3 separate regions of the Homo sapiens genome follow, and all the other regions are linked to region 3. The links are contacts of gene promoters, found by promoter capture Hi-C in human tissues and cell types (Jung and others, 2019). All regions are on one chromosome and are shown on one strand. The core of a region is centred on a gene start or on the middle of the fragment in contact, and the rest is flanking DNA. Distances in the headings are between cores, read along the strand shown.

Evidence for each region. The method cuts DNA at HindIII sites, captures the fragments that hold promoters and counts their contacts. A contact is called where the count stands out against the background at its distance.
Region 1: a fragment that was not itself captured here is called in contact with the fragment with the promoter of COX6C in region 3 in 1 of the 25 tissues and cell types used here (aorta).
Region 2: a contact is called between a fragment that was not itself captured here and the fragment with the promoter of COX6C in region 3, in 3 of the 25 tissues and cell types used here (H1 embryonic stem cells, bladder and thymus).

Annotation. Positions count from the first base shown.
Region 1 is chr8:100,088,392-100,091,091 of GRCh38, forward strand. The region is part of intron 3 of RGS22 (regulator of G protein signaling 22); the gene reads right to left. Among named protein-coding and RNA genes, the nearest start is that of RGS22, 16 kb to the right of the region's middle. The HindIII fragment of the contact is 7,696 bases long and covers 1-2,700 here.
Region 2 is chr8:100,111,270-100,113,969 of GRCh38, forward strand. No RefSeq gene overlaps it. Among named protein-coding and RNA genes, the nearest start is that of RGS22, 6.6 kb to the left of the region's middle. The HindIII fragment of the contact is 8,380 bases long and covers 1-2,700 here.
Region 3 is chr8:99,892,449-99,895,148 of GRCh38, forward strand. COX6C (cytochrome c oxidase subunit 6C) reads right to left here and starts at 1,259. Exons shown (of 4, transcript NM_004374.4): 1 at 1,191-1,259. RefSeq lists enhancers at 101-749, 750-1,397 and a silencer at 871-1,040. The HindIII fragment of the contact is 7,152 bases long and covers 1-2,700 here.

The DNA.
Region 1 (2,700 bases), core at 120-2,619, 200 kb after region 3:
TCAATCCCACAACAGTCACTAAGCATAAAACACACAAAACAAAGCCAAAAGGAAAAAAATGTTTTCACACTATAGCACGGAAGAAAACTTAATAAGCAAACACTTGTCCATAAAGAGTTGACAGCAAAAAACCTCCCAGACACCAAATGAAAACAATATCTGAATGTGAACTTGGCACAAGAACAAACGGAATGAAGTTATGAAAGCTAGGATTTGGAAAGTGCTGCAATCATTTATAATAGCAGCAACTGTCCTGAATTCCCCTCATCAAAAAATAACATGGAGGCAGGCTACCAGCCACCAGTTTCAGGATCTTACAATGTGTCCCAAGGGTATAATGGTGTAATGGAAAGAAATAGTGTAGGGGCCAGAATGCCTGATTCCTAGGCCCATTTCTACCACAATCCGGTTATAGGACCTTGGGCATGTCATTACAGATAGGGAAAAAGTCTCAGAAGTCATCTCAGAGATGACCTAAGGGCCCTATAGTCTATATCTACACTCTAGGGCTTAGGCTATTGCTTTTGGTGGGGACTGAGGGTAGAGGTGGGTGAAGAAAGGAGGCAGGAGAAAAGATTAGAAGGTTTACTTGTTTATATTAAGGATCTTACATGGAAGATGTTGAAATAAAAACAGAATCATAATCAAGAATCTTTGGGAGATACAGAAAAGACCTGTCCTTGCCCCCAGGAAATTTACAATGTAGCTCCTGAGATAAAATAAACAGAGAAGAAGGAAATTTTCTCTGGTCAAGAAAGTCCAATCTTCCACCATAGATATATATACATAATAGAGATACACGAGATACACACACACACAAACACACACACACACACACACACACGATATTCTCATAAGATGATTTTCTAACCTCTACTTGAATACCTCCAAGTTTACTCCTTCACAAGTCAGCCCATTTAATTGTTAGAAAACAAATTCTAAAGTTCCTTCTTATGGTGAGTGAAAATCAAATCAATTTCTCTCATAAATGCTGGCCGTGGTTCTGCACTCTAGTTTCACAGAATACGTTAACCCTTCTTCCTCAATCAAATCATAAAATATTTGAAAGGGACTACTCCATTTCACCCCTGCTACCCATTCCCAAGCCAGGTTAAACACCAAACTTCTTTCAACCCTTCATTTGACATGGTTTCCAGAGTGATCATTGGCTAAGACTCCCTGAGTCTGGTTTGGCAGAGCAACTCTTAACATATGGCACCAAAAATGGAACACAACGGTCTAAGTGCAGTCTGACAATTTAACTCTATTCAAAGAAACATTTATTGAGTGCTTTCTGTGCTCCAGACTAATATTTTTCTTGATCTTGACTACATTTCTATTAATGACCCCTAAAACCACATTAGCTTTGTTTGTTTTGGTCCATTTCACACTATCGGGATAAAAACAAGACCAGATTCTCTTATCCAAATCATTAGTTTACTCCTCTGCTGCCAGTTCTATAGACATCATAGCATGATGGGACAATCAAAAGTTTTGAGCCATCTGAACCTGTGTGGACCATTATTTACTAGATGCATGACCTAATACTGGAACTTGCAACTTTTCATCCAAGTCCCTGATAAAAACAGTTAAAAAGGCAAAGCCAATGACAGATTTGTTTGGCACATAAGATTATCCTCTATATTGACCATCCACCAATCCCATTAAACAGTGATTGCCTGTTATGCTGCAGGAATGGAGGACGAGATAGTCTAATTAGTGAAGGAAAAGAAAAGTGAAGCACTAAACCTGTGCCAGGCGCTTAACATACGTTACCTCACTTGATAATAATTTTGTAAGATAGTCATATTGTCTTCATAGAGAAAGAAATTGGGGAATTAAGTAAGCAAGGTTTCTAAGATCATGCTGGTAAGAGTGGAAAAGCTGGAATCAAACACAGTTCTCTCACTCCTAATACCAACAATTACATGGTGAGATTTGAGCATGGGAAGAATAAGTGTGGTCAAGATGGATTGGTGGGCTAGGGGAGGCAGGAAAGAGTATGCAGGATGGCAAAAGTAATGTGAAATGAGATATAAAGGTAGAAAGATTAAGTTGAAGCCAAATTACAAAGGGTCTTGAATTGTATACTAGCAAATTTGGAATTCAATCTGTAGGTTATTAAAAATCAACCCCTGCTGGTTATGGTTAGTCAACCAGTTCAAATACTTGAAAACTAATTTCACAGATAATGATAAGGTCTTTGGAGACAAAGCACTATAAGTGGAGCATGTGTTGAGGTTGTTATTTTAGATAGGGTTGTTAGGGAAGGCTTTCTAAACAGAAGGGATTTAAGTCAAGGAGAAAGTGATACAGGTATCTCAGAGAAGAGCATGCCAGGTAGAAAGACCCTGAGTATATCTGGCATATTCATGTTTGAGAAGCATAAAGAAAGTCAGTCAGGTTGGAAAGTAAGTAGAGAAAATAAGTAGAAAATAAAGATCAAGAGATAGCAAGAGCCAGATCATATAGGATTCTGGATTTTATTCTTAGTGTAATGAGAAGTCCCTAGACAGGGTTTTGAACAGAGCAGGAAGTAACATGATTCAATTTATTATTTTTATAATACTTTATTGAAATCATAATACATTAATTTATGGTTCCCTAAAATACCAGTCTATAACTATCCAAAAAAAGAAAGATTAGTTTGGCATACTTACTCTCAGTAAACCCATACTGGCTTCTAATATTTAGCTAAGT
Region 2 (2,700 bases), core at 178-2,677, 220 kb after region 3:
CCACCCAAGATCAACAGAATATACGTTGTTCTCAGCATCTCATTGCACTTATTCTAAAATTGACCACATAATTGGAAGTAAAACACTCCTGAGGAAATGTAGAGAACAGAAATCATAACAAACAGTCTCTCAGATCACAGTGCAATCAAACTAGAACTTAGGATTTAAAAACTCACTCAAAACCACACAACTACATGGAAACTGAACAACCTGCTCCTAAATGACCACTAGGTAAATAACAAAATGAAGGCAGAAATAAAGATGTTCTTTGAAACCAATGAGAATGAAGACACAACAAACCAGGATCTCTGGACACATTTAGAGCAGTGTGTAAAGGGAAATTTATAGCACTAAATGTCCACAAGAGAAAACAGGAAAGATCTAAAATTGACACCCTAAAATCAAAATGAAAAGAACTAGAGAAGCAACAGCAAACAAATTCAAAATCTAGCAGAAGACAAGAAATAACTGAGATCAGAGCAGAACTGAAGGAGATAGAGACATGAAAAACCCTTCAAAAAATTAGTGAATCCAGGAGCTGGTTTTTTGAAAAGATCAACAAAGTAGATAGACCACTAGCCAGACTAATAAAGAAGAAAAGAGAGAAGAATCAAATAGATGCAATAAAAAAATGATAAAGGGGATATCACCACTGATCCCACAGAAATACAAACTACCATTAGAGAATACTATAAACACCTCTACGCAAATAAACTAGAAAATCTAGAAGAAAATAAATTCCTGGACACATACACTCTCCTAAGTCCAAACCAGGAATAAGTCAAATCCCTGAATAGACCAATAACAACTTCTGAAATTGAGGCAGTAATTAATAGCCTACAAACCAAAAAAAGTCCAGGACCAGACAGATTCACAGCTGAATTCTGCCAGAGGTACAAAGAGGAGCTGGTACCATTCCTTCTGAAACTATTCCAAACAATAGAAAAAGAGCAAATCTTCCCTAACCCATTTTATGAGGCCAGCATCATCCTGATACCACAACCTGGCAGACACAACAAAAAAAGAAAATTTCAGGCAATATCCCTGATGAACATCGATGCAAAAATCCTCAATAAAATACTGCCAAACCAAATCCAGCAGCACATCAAAAAGCTTATCCACCACGATCAAGTCAGCTTCCTACCTGGGATGCAAGCCTGGTTCAACATACGCAAATCAATAAACGTAATCCATCACATAAACAGAAACAATCACAAAAACCACATGATTATCCCAATAGATGCAGAAAAGTCCTTCAACAAAATTCAACACCCCTTCATGCTAAAAACTCTCAATAAACTGGGTATCAATGGAACGTATCTCAAAATAATAAGAGCTATTTATGACAAACCCACAGCCAATATCATACTGAATGGGCAAAAACTGGAAGCATTCCCTTTGAAAACCAGCACAAGACAAGAATGCCCTCTCTCACCATTCCTATTCAACATAGTATTGGAAGTTCTGGCCAGGGCCATCAGGCAAGAGAAAGAAATAAAGGGTATTCAAATAGGAAGAGAGGAAGTCAAATCGTCTCTATTTGCAGATGACATGATTGTATATTTAGAAAACCCCATAGTCACAATGCAAAATCTCCTTAAGCTGATAAGCAACTTCAGCAGTCTCAGAATACAATATCAATGTGCAAAAATCACAAGCATTCCTATGCACCAATAACAGACAAACAGAGAGCCAACTCATGAGTGAACTCCTATTCACAATTGCTGCTAAGAGAATAAAATGCCAAGGAACATAACTTACAAGGGATGTGAAGAACCTCTTCAAGGAGAACTACAAACCACTGCTCAAGGAAGTAAGAAAGGACCCAAACAAATGGAAAAACATTCTATGCTCATGGATAGGAAGAATCAATATCGTGAAAATGGCCATACTGTCCAAAGTAATGTATAGATTCAATGCTATACCCATCAAGCTACCACTGACTTTCTTCACAGAATTGGAAAAAACTACTTTAAAGTTCATATGGAACCAAAAAAGGGCCCGCATAGCCAAGACAATCTTGGGCAAGAAGAACAAAGCTGGAGATACCACGCTACTTGACTTCACACTATACTACAAGGCTACAGTAACCAAAACAGCATAGTACTGGTACCAAAACAGATACATAGACCAAAGGAACAGAACAGAGGCCTCAGAAATAACACCACACATCTACAACCATCTGATCTTTGACAAATCTGACACAAACAAGGAATGGGGAAAAGAATTCCCTATTTAATAAATGTTGTTGGGAAAACTGGCTAGCCATATGCAGAAAACTGAAACTGGACCCCTTCCTTGTACCCTATACAAAAATCAACTCAAGATGGATCAAAGACTTAAAGGTAAGACCTAGGACCATAAAAATCCTAGAAGAAAACCTGGGCAATACCATTCAGGACATAGGCATGGGCAAAAACTTCATGTCTAAGACACCAAAAGCAATGGTAACAAAAGCCAAAACAGACAAATGGGATCTAATTAAACTAAAGAGCTTCTGCACAGCAAAAGAAACTATCATCAGAGTGGAGAAATAGGAACACTTTTACACTGTTGGTGGGAGTATAAATTAGTTCAACCATTGTGGAAGACAGTGTGGCAATTCCTAAGGATCTAGAACTAGAAATACCATTTGACCCAGTGATCCCATTATGGGGTATATACCCAAAGGATTATAAATCATTTTGCTATAAAGACACA
Region 3 (2,700 bases), core at 9-2,508:
ACTGAAGTCCAATACTCAGGTCTCTGCGTCCTGCATACCTCATGTAGCTCTCACTACTCTGAGCTTTTTTTCCCTTTCTCGGGTAAAATAATAAAAGAAAAACTCAGAAAAGATATCAAAAGGAATTCTCATGCATAGTACATTTTACTACCTAGAGAGGCACAGCACGACAGTGGATGGATTCCTCCCACAAAGCCTAAGCTGTCTCTTGGCTTAGCCTGTTTCATCTTCCCCCCGCCCCCCATATACTGAGCGACCACCCTAAATAAACGCGACAAACTGCGGCACACTAGTAATGGACGAGCAAAGGCAACAAAAATCTTTCCAACAACAAGAAAAATAAGCAGTAGCTCCGCATTGGTAATTAACGATTGCAAACCCATTTATGCAACACTTTCTCTTCTAAAAATTTTCTGTCCACTCGTTAAACCTTCGCGACAACCCTGTCAGATCATGAGGCAGGTGTTTTCCACGGTCACACGGTATACCATTAAAACCTGGACGGGAACGCGGCAAATACCATGAGGGCCCAAATTCCCTAACTGCTCCTTTGCCCAGCCTCACCTAAAGACCTAAGGGGCCTAAAAACTTTTGCGTCCCTGCTGGCCTTCAGCTAACGCGGCCGGGGGTAGGATGGGAAGCCGTGGGGCAAGGGAGGTTGCAGGAAGCCCATCCTTCCCCTCCTGCGGCAGGTACGGTGACCCTCCTCCAGTTTTCCAGCTCTAATTTAAAACGCTGCCACACAGCGAGCGACGCTGCCAGCTGCTTCGCCTACACTAACCCTTGCGCCTCACGACCAGCTGCATTAGAAACCACCACCCCTTTTCTCACGGGAGAAACACCGGGGCCAGATAGGTCAAATGACCTCACCAAGGTCACAATGGCTGTGAAAAAGCGCAGCGGGTACCAGCCCCGGGCCAGCTCACTCCGAAGCCAGCTGGGTTCTCGAGGGTCCCGCAGCCCACCCGGCTTCGGTGGGGCCGTCGCAACCCACCCCGGTCCGTGGTCCGCCCGCCGCCCTCCCTCAGGCCGCAGCGGAAGCGTGAGAGAGTAGATGCGGGAGAGGCCTGAAGCTGCACCACGGCGGAGACACACAGTCACGACTAAATCCGAGGCAGAGAGAAAGCGGGAGGGTGCCGTTGTGACAACCCGCAGTGTCGGGGTAGGGATGCAAAAGGGACCGGACTCACCTCAACACCAACGTCCTTCCTGACTAAAGGAAAAACGAACCGTGCTGTAGCCGCGCGCAGGCGCAGAATAAGAGTGCACAGCGAGAACGCGGCGACGGTAGCCGAAGGAGTTCAAAAGACCTCTAGTGCGCCCACCGCAGGTGACAGCCGAAGTTCATTTCGTGGTCTGCTTCTTTCCTGTGTGACCTTGCAAAACGGGCTTGACCTCCTTATTTATCGACCTCTTTATCTTCTTAGTAAATTGAAGATATTAGTCGTACTCATACACAGAGTCCCAAACCATGTGCACAAACCGACATTTTAATTATAACCAACCTTACGCGAATAACCGTTTGGCTTGGGTAAAAGTGAAAAAGCTGACTTCTAGGAGCTCACAGCCCAGAAGATGAAAAAGACAAACAGATTAATACCGATCCCATGCAGTGGGCACTACCACAGAGACGTGGCCCAGCTACTGCAGAAGCAATTCTCTACCTGGCAAAGCTGAGGACGTTTTGATAGAGGGGCGGTATTTTTGTGGGTTTCTTAAGAAAACAAGGATTTTGAAGGAAGGCAACTGGAAGTTCGTGGAAAGTGGTGTAGAAGGGTGAGGCTCTTGTGCCTTAATGATGCCAGGCTGTTTGTATTGAAATAACCTGAATTTTAAAAGCATTATTTAAGTCAACCCATCAAGCCCTGTGGAAGGTAGCTGGGACACAACAGATGCATGATATTGAGTCGATATATACACTGAGTACCTACTATGTGCCAGATTCTGCTAAACAAGAGGACAGATCTTCGGGGAGTCTCATTCTGATCAGGGAGTCTTTGTCCTCAACCTATTAACCAACACTCTGGAGGGTGAAACCTGGCCACAAAGAAAGGTGCTCAATTGAGGTTCAAAAGTAGGTTTGGACTTTACCAACGTTTTTCAGGCCTCTTATCAAGGGTCTACCCAGCTGAAAATCTTTGCATGGAATTTGTCCAGAGAGTAATTTGTTTCTATTCTCTTTCCATCCCCACCCCCAGAGAAGAAGTGGTGAACTTAAGAGTTCACAGGGATTAGTGTATGTGAAACCATCAGGGAAAGCTTCAGACAATACGTGGAAGAGATGGAAGCAGAGCTGAGTTTCAGTCTAATGGAAAGCCTGGAAAACTGGAGAAATTGGAGAGAAAACATTGGCTGGGAGAACATGGCAAAGACAGGCACACTCAGGGCACAGAGCCTGACCTGAGTGAAATACTGAGTGTTTGTTCTGTGCTTCCCTAGCTATCCAGTGAACCATAGTGAATGACTGAGGGTGACACGTGAATAAAACCTGAGCGATAGATGAAGAGAGACATGTTACATATAGGTTCTGTTCTAGAGCCGAACAGACCTGGATTTGAGTCCCAGCTCATCAACTTGTAGCGGCAAATTTCTTCATCTTTCTAAGTCTGCTTTCTCCTCTAAAAATAGTACCCATTTTGTTGGGTTGTGATGTAAATTAAATGGGATAATGTATATGCAGCTTGAGTATCCCTTATCTGA